2 separate regions of the Homo sapiens genome follow, and region 1 is linked to region 2. Evidence: promoter capture Hi-C in human tissues and cell types (Jung and others, 2019). All regions are on one chromosome and are shown on one strand. The core of a region is centred on a gene start or on the middle of the fragment in contact, and the rest is flanking DNA. Distances in the headings are between cores, read along the strand shown. Region 1 overlaps GET1-SH3BGR (GET1-SH3BGR readthrough). Region 2 holds the start of LCA5L (lebercilin LCA5 like).

What was found. The method cuts DNA at HindIII sites, captures the fragments that hold promoters and counts their contacts. A contact is called where the count stands out against the background at its distance.
Region 1: a contact is called between a fragment that was not itself captured here and the fragment with the promoter of LCA5L in region 2, in 2 of the 25 tissues and cell types used here (adrenal gland and aorta).

The regions. Positions count from the first base shown.
Region 1 is chr21:39,401,876-39,405,676 of GRCh38, forward strand. All of the region lies in intron 4 of GET1-SH3BGR (GET1-SH3BGR readthrough), which reads left to right. It also overlaps a transcript of GET1 not described here. Among named protein-coding and RNA genes, the nearest start is that of GET1-SH3BGR, 23 kb to the left of the region's middle. The HindIII fragment of the contact is 5,337 bases long and covers 1-3,801 here.
Region 2 is chr21:39,443,644-39,447,208 of GRCh38, forward strand. LCA5L (lebercilin LCA5 like) reads right to left here and starts at 2,135. Exons shown (of 11, transcript NM_152505.4): 1 at 2,082-2,135; 2 at 492-558. The region is part of intron 8 of GET1-SH3BGR (GET1-SH3BGR readthrough); the gene reads left to right. It overlaps MIR6508 (microRNA 6508), which reads left to right and starts at 3,367; the gene lies at 3,367-3,426. It also overlaps a transcript of SH3BGR not described here. RefSeq lists a silencer at 2,046-2,305. The HindIII fragment of the contact is 9,266 bases long and covers 1-3,565 here.

The DNA of each region.
Region 1 (3,801 bases), core at 942-3,441, 42 kb before region 2:
CCGTATGAGGCAGCAGATTTAATGTATAAATGTGTGTGTGCTGACTGCACCACTGACTTGGCCATTCCCGTCTCTCCCCCTTCCCCAGGGCTCCCTATTCCTTAAGACACAAAAATGTTGAAATTAGGGCAACATTGGCCCCTAATTTCAATAATAATGATGACCTCTAAATGTTCAAGTGCAAGGAAGAGTTGCGTGTCTTTCGTGCTAGCTTTTATTTTATTTAATTAATTAATTAGTTTATTTGAGATGGAGTCTTGCTCTGTCACCCAGGCTGGAGTGCAGTGGCATGATCTCGGCTCACAGCAACCCCTGCCTCCTGGGTTCAAGCGATTCTCCTGCCTCAGCCTCCCGAGTAGCTGGGATTACAGGCGTGCACGACCACACCTGGCTAATACTTGTATTTTTAGTAAGAGACGGGGTTTCACCATGTTGGCCAGGCTGATCTCGAACTCCTGGCCTCAAGTGATCTGCCTGCCTCGGCCTCCCAAAGTGTTGGGATTACAGTCTTGAGCCACCTGTAAAGAGTCTGAGTTCTTTACTTACAATCTTTTAGTTCACTGAGCTGGAGACCCCAGGGAGGTCCCAGCATTGTATGGAAAACGGACCCCCTAACTTGGGCTGCCTGGGTTTTGTCCTCAGGAGGAGTCTGTGTTGCTCAGACATATTCGGCAAATGCCCTTTAGGCAGAAGCTTACTTTAGTGCTTTGCTTACTTATCTCCTTGGGTGCCTAATTTCTTTTCGTGTTTACCAGCTGAGCAGCTGATTTAGAAACGTTTTCTATAGTTGGTACAGCATTTTTAGCTTTTGTTACAGCAAGAGTGTTGGAGTACCTTCTCTCTCAGAGCTCAGGAAATGGATTTGTTTTTAAAAATCTTTTTTCCATGATCGTAAAGTTATGTTCATCATAGCAAACATGCGAAAGAAAGCCAGAGTAGAAAACACTAAAAGTAAATTAAAAATTGGCCCCAATCTCATAATACTCAGAGATAAAAAGTTAGCATGTTAATCTGTTACCCTCTAACTTTTTTATTCATACAGTTAAGATGACTAGACAACAACAGGCTTAGATTGTATTTTTATTAAATTAGTTCTCTACACTTCTAAATATAGCTCTGATTTAATATCACGATGTGTGCTTTCATTGTGGGTGGGCATAAGAAAAGATCCCTTGGAAAATCCTCTGTCTGCTATGAAGCTGGAGTAGACACTGTCATGTTACTCAGCATACCATTTCCAGGAGTCCTTTTAATACATTTCTCCGGAATTGAGGCCACTATGTCATCTCACTTAATTTGCGTATTTCCCCTTATGAGCCTGTGAGAGCTCTCCCTCCCTGCCTCCCTTACTCCTTCCGTCCTCTTCTTTTCTATGTTATTCCACCTTGCTTTTCATAAACGATCAAAGCATATGCCAATTGTAGTATTTATCTCATCTTTGGTTTTATTATTTTTTAATTAATTAGTTTGACACGGAGTCTCGCTCTGTTGCCCAGGCTGGAGTGCAGTGGTGCGATCTCGGCTCACTGCAAGCTCCGCCTCCCGGGTTCACGCCATTCTCCCGCCTCAGCCTCTCCAGTAGCTGGGACTAAAGGCGCCGCCACCACGCCCGGCTAATTTTTTGTTATTTTTAGTAGAGACGGGGTTCACCGTGTTAGCCAGGATGGTCTCGATCTGACTTCATGATCCGCCCGCCTCGGCCTCCCAAAGTGCTGGGGTGAGCCACCGCTCCCGGTCTACTATTTTTATTTTTATTTTTTTTTTGAGATGGAGTCTCACTCTGTCGCCCAGGCTAGAGTGCAGTGGCGGGATCTTGGCTCACTGCAACCTCTGCCTCCCAGGTTCAAGCAATTCTCCTGCCTCAGCCTCCTGTGTAGCTGGGACTACAGATGCTGGCCACCACGCATGGCTAATTTTTGTATTTTTAGTAGAGACGGGGTTTCACCAAATTGGTCAGGCTGGTCTCGAACTCCCGACCTCAGGTGATCGCCCGCCTCAGCCTCCCAAAGTGTTGGGATTACAGGCGTGAGCCACTGCGCCCGGCTCTATTTTTATTTTTATATTTTTTGAGACAGGGTCTTGCTCCTTCGCCCAGGCTGGAGTGCAGTGGCACGATCCTGGCTCACTGCAACCTCCTCCCAGGTTCAAGCGATTCTCCTGCCTCAGCCTTCCGGGTAGCTGCCATTACAGTTAATATTACACACCAACACATAAACATCATTGGAAAGGAAATAGTATGGTCTAGATTATAAACAAGTTGCCCTTATAACTAAATGAAGTAAGCTAAATAAAGTGAGGCTGGGAGTATAGCCTCCTTTTTACAGTCCTAATTTAAAATATCCTAAGTTTAGTAAATATATTAGTTAGGACTGAGCAGCTAGCTCGAATAAACACCAGCAGGGCCATGGTACTGTTTTATGGTTTTTAGAACAAGGTTAACAGAAAAATGGTCAACATACAGGTATGCAACAAATCTCAATAAATGATACTGGATCTCAGGTGTACACAAGGAAAGCATCACCCACAAAGGCAGGACATTGGATACCCAGGTTAGCTGAATAAGAGAAACTCAAAAATGATTTTCATGGCTGGGCACGGTGGCTCACGCCTGTCATTCCCAGCACTTTGGGAGGCTGAGGTGGGCAGATCACCTGAGGTCAGGAGTTCAAGACCAGCCTGGCTAACATGGCAAAACCATTTTTAGTCTCTAATAAAAATAGAAAAATTAGCTGGGTGTGGTGGTGCATGCCTGTAATCCCAGCTACTCTGTAGGCTGAGACACGAGAATCGCTTGAACCCCGGCAGGGCGGAGGTTGCAGTGAGCCAAGATTGTTATCACTGCACTCCAGCCTGGGTGACACACTGAGACACTGTCAAAAAAAAAAAAAAAAAAAAAGATTTTCATGAAACTAAGCTTGGTAATCACTATATATATACACACATACATACATATATGTATTTTTTTTTTTTTTTGAGATGGAGTCTCGCTCTGTCACCCAGGCTAGGGTGCAGTGGTGTTATTTTGGTTCACTGCAGCCTCTGCCTCCTGGGGTTCCAGCGATTCTCCTGCCTCAGCCTCCTGGGTAGCTGCCATTACAGGCATGTGCCACCACACCCAGCTGATTTTTTGTATTTTTAGTAGAGACAGGGTTTCACCATGTTGGCCAGGCTGGTCTCAAACTCCTAACCTCAGGTGATCCACCTACCTCGGTCTCCCAAAGTGTTGGGATTACTGGCGTGAGCCATGGCACCCAGCCTATTTTTTTTTTTTAGTAAAAAGAGTCTTTTGATCATATTGTTCCCTTTCAAAGCTGCTGCCACATTTTGTTTTTATTTTTTGAGACACGGTCTCACTCCGATTGCCCAAGCTAGAGTGCAGTGGCACGATCATGCTCACTGAAGCCTCGACCTGGGCACAAGTGATTCTTTGACCTCAGCCTCCCAAGTAGCTGGGACTACAGGCACACACCACCACACCTGGCTAATTCTTATAATTTTTGTAGAGACGGGGTTGTACCATGTTGGCCAGGCTGGTCTTAAACTCCTGGACTCAAGTGATCCTCCCACCTTGGCCTCCTAAAATGCTGGGATTACAGGCAAGAACCACTGCATCTGGCCTGCTTCCATGTTTTTAAGTTACAATTCAACTCTATTGCTGATAAATTTTGTTGTGTAGGAGATGCATGTCTTGGGTTGACTAACTTAAGAGTTACTAGCTATGGAGTCCCACAGAATACTAAAACCATATAGTAAACCAGTCTTCCAGAAGATAATGGATGTTTCAGTTGTAAAGATGTAAAT
Region 2 (3,565 bases), core at 885-3,384:
CTCAGCTAACCGTGGCAATCCTACTCTGTTACTTTGGTTAATTGGGGTTTTACCTGATGGCAAAAGAGAAAAGATGGGGCTAGGAGTTTAAGAGAGTGGCAAGGGTAGGGCCGGGCGCAGTGGCTCACGCCTTTAATCCCAGCACTTTGGAAGGCCGAGGCAGGCAGATTACCTGAGGTCAGGAGTTTGAGACCAGCCTGGCCAACATGGTGAAACCCCATCTCTACTAAAAATACAAAAATTAGCTGGGCATGGTGGCGTACACCTGTAATCCCAGCTACTCAGGCCGAGGCAGGAGAATTGCTTGAGCCCAGAGATGGAGGTTGCAGTGAGCCGAGATCTTGCCACTGCACTCCAGCCTGGCCGACAGAGTAAGGCTCTGTCTTAAAAAAAAAAAAAACAACAAAAAAAGAGAGATTGGCTAGGGGCCTTAGCTCCTTGAGGGCAGGGACCTGTCACATTGATCGCGGTATCAGCACCCAGGTACTTACTATTCAAAATGATCAGCATACGGATGATCATTTGTCTGCATCTCAGTTTGCCTCTTTTGGTGCTTCTCTAAAAAATAAAAAAGGAAGAGCTTAAACTCCTACATGATTCCTGTCTTTGCGCTGGGAAGAAGGCTCTGGGTTCTTTTGTTCTTCAGGACAGTCCCTTGTAAAGCTCTTGCCATAGTTCTGTTCCAGGGGCACTGTCATATTTATACCTAACAAAGCTAAGGGGTGTCTTTACATTTTTAGCTTGTTAGCAGGATGCTTATATGGCCTTGCTGACCCGGTTTAAAAGTTGCAATTTGCAAAATACATACTGAAAATACTGCACTTTTACCTATGGAAGTTGTAATTTATATAAGGAAATTGTAATTTATATAATCCTTTAAAAAACTTACTCATACGAAATAACAGAGAACGGGGAAATACCATTAAGACTGTCATGCTCAAGTGGGGGAGGGGCAGACTCAGGGAAACCAATTAGGAAGCAAGTAAAATAATCCACGCACCAGATGATGGGGGCCTGGACCAAGGTGGTGACAGTGGCGGTTGAGAGAAATGGTAGAATTGTGAATCTATTCTGGGTGCATTTTGAAGGCAGTGCTGACAGACTGAAGGTGAGGAAGAGAAAAACAGGACTCAAACAGGATGCAAGACTCGGGCAACTGGAGGATGGAATTTCCAGCAACTATGATGGATTAAGATTGTGGGAGGACAGGCTTGGCTTGGGGAATTATTGAGCGCTATCTTGGACGAGCTGTGTTTGAGATGCCGTAGACATCCAAGTAGGGATGTGGCAGGCAGCTAAATGCAGGGATCTGGTGTTCAGGGGAGGGGCGAGGGCTGGGAATGCACACTTGGGGCTCACTGGAATTCAGATAGGCTCTGAGTACAGGCGACTGGATGAGTTCATCTAGGGATTGAGTGTAGACAGAAAAAAGGCTCAAGCTCACATTCAGCCGTGAAAACTGGTCTCTGAAAAAAGTTAACCGTTGGCTTAAGTGTGGCAACGAAACGTTAACACGCTGAGGGGAGGGTGTGGATAAAGAGCCCCGAGGCTGGGTGAGTGGGGGACAAACACAGACAGAGAAGACATTTCAAAAGATTTAGATTCCTACGAGATAGGGAGATGCCAGCGCTAAGGTTAGAAAGAAAAACTAATCCAAAGCAAAACAGCAAGTAAGCAGAGGCAAAATCGGAGGTCAGATAGAAGATTCAGATAGAAAAACCCCAAAGTTCCCTCGGTGGGGCGGCGGTGAGATCGGCCTCCGCCCCCTCGCCAGACCCAGGCGCGGCCCCGGGAGCGCTAGGTCACCTCGGCCCAGGCCGTCCCCCTGCCCAGCGGGCCTGAGAGTACGTGTGTCGCCGGGGCGCCCGGTCACTGCCGAGCCGGGGTAGCTGTTCCTTGGCAAACTGTGCCGCGAGGAGGAAACGGCGGGGCGCCAGCGAGGCAGGCAGGGGCGAGGACTGAGTGACCGGCGATACTGGAAGCCCAGAAAGAGCGTAGCAGGAGGGTCCGGAAGGGCCCAGAGCTGGGGCTGTAACAGGGTAACCGGCTGAGGGGGACGACGGCAGCAGCGGGGCCGTTACCTGCTCCGCGCTGTTCCCACGACTGCGCCAACGCCGCAGCGCCGGCGCGTCCCCATGGAAACCCGCGCGCGGGGCCTCCTGGGAAGCGCCGGCCTGCGGGGGCTGGGCGCGCGCATGCGCACTCGGGCAGCAGGAGCCGCGGCGGGGAGGGGCGTCTTGGGCCTGGAGGTCAGTGTGGCCTCGCGTTTGTCTTCGGTGACGGGAAGTGAGTTTCTTGTGTAGACGTCTGTAAACGATCCTCCTGCCGTCCCTGTTCGGCGCCCGGGACCCTGCCTTCCCGCGTGGCCGCACCGAGACGAGGGAGCCTGTCACGCGCTCTGGCGCTCTCCTGACCTCTTAAGGCTCTGTCAGTCTTAGGTAACTTGAGTCAGTAGGTGGGTGTAGACGCCTGGTCAATTCCTGGGAAGCACAGTTCCCCTATTAACCCCTTGTCATAAAGACGATTTTTTTTTTTTTTTTGTAAAACAAAATCTGATGACAAAACAATGCATGTTTGGCATAGAGAATTTAGAAATGTACAGGCAAGTCCAAAGCAAAAGTCAAAATCACCTAGATGATGGAGTTATAGATGTTTTTTAATGACAGCATAGGAATTTGGCATAATTTAGGAAGACTTACATTGTTTCCTTTTATTTATTTACTTTTTTTCCTGCATCAAAGCCATGTTGAATATCCTTGCAGATGAATCTTTGAGGTCACCCCTGACTGTTTCCTTAGGATAAATTCCTACAAGCGAGGTTGCAGGGCCAAAGCATATGCTCACTTTGAGGCTTTCTAAAGGTAGAGGGAAACTGCCTTCCAGTAAGTGTCCCGATACTTGGCCCGCATTGGAAATTCTCTTTTTTCTTAAAATTTTTTTGCCCATTTTATTGTCAAAAATTGGCATCTTTAATTGTATTCACTTCCTTTTTAGTAGGAAGAATAGACTTTTTCCCATATCTTGAGTGCCATTTGTCCTTATTGTGTGATTTGCATTTTCCTGTCTTTTGTCCATTTTAAAACTTGACATTCATCTTTGTAAAAATGGGTTTTGTAAGGACTTTTGATGCTTGAAAACTTGGCTTGTGATATACGTTGCAAATATTTCCTCAATTTGTCAGTTACCTTTAATTTTGTTTACAGTGTATTTTGGTATTTGTGTAGAGTCAAGCTTATTACATTTCTCTATAGTTTCTGCATTTGGTTTTTATATAAAAGGAGAAACGGGTGTTTTTTTTCAAATTGACTTTAATCCTACTTTGGTAGAAGTGGGTTAGGACAAGCTTTCTCTCCATATCACCATTTCTTCCTCTAGAAATGCATGACCCACCCTGAGTTTTGGTGGGCCATGCATTTCTAGAACTCCTTAGGTAGGGAATTATCCGTATAAGATGGGTGCCGGTTGTTTTTGCTGGTGGTGGTGGGCGGGGCAACATCTCCAGGTAGGCAAACATTAGACAAATGTCACTCTAGACTTGACATTATGGAAAGATGGGCTGATGCTT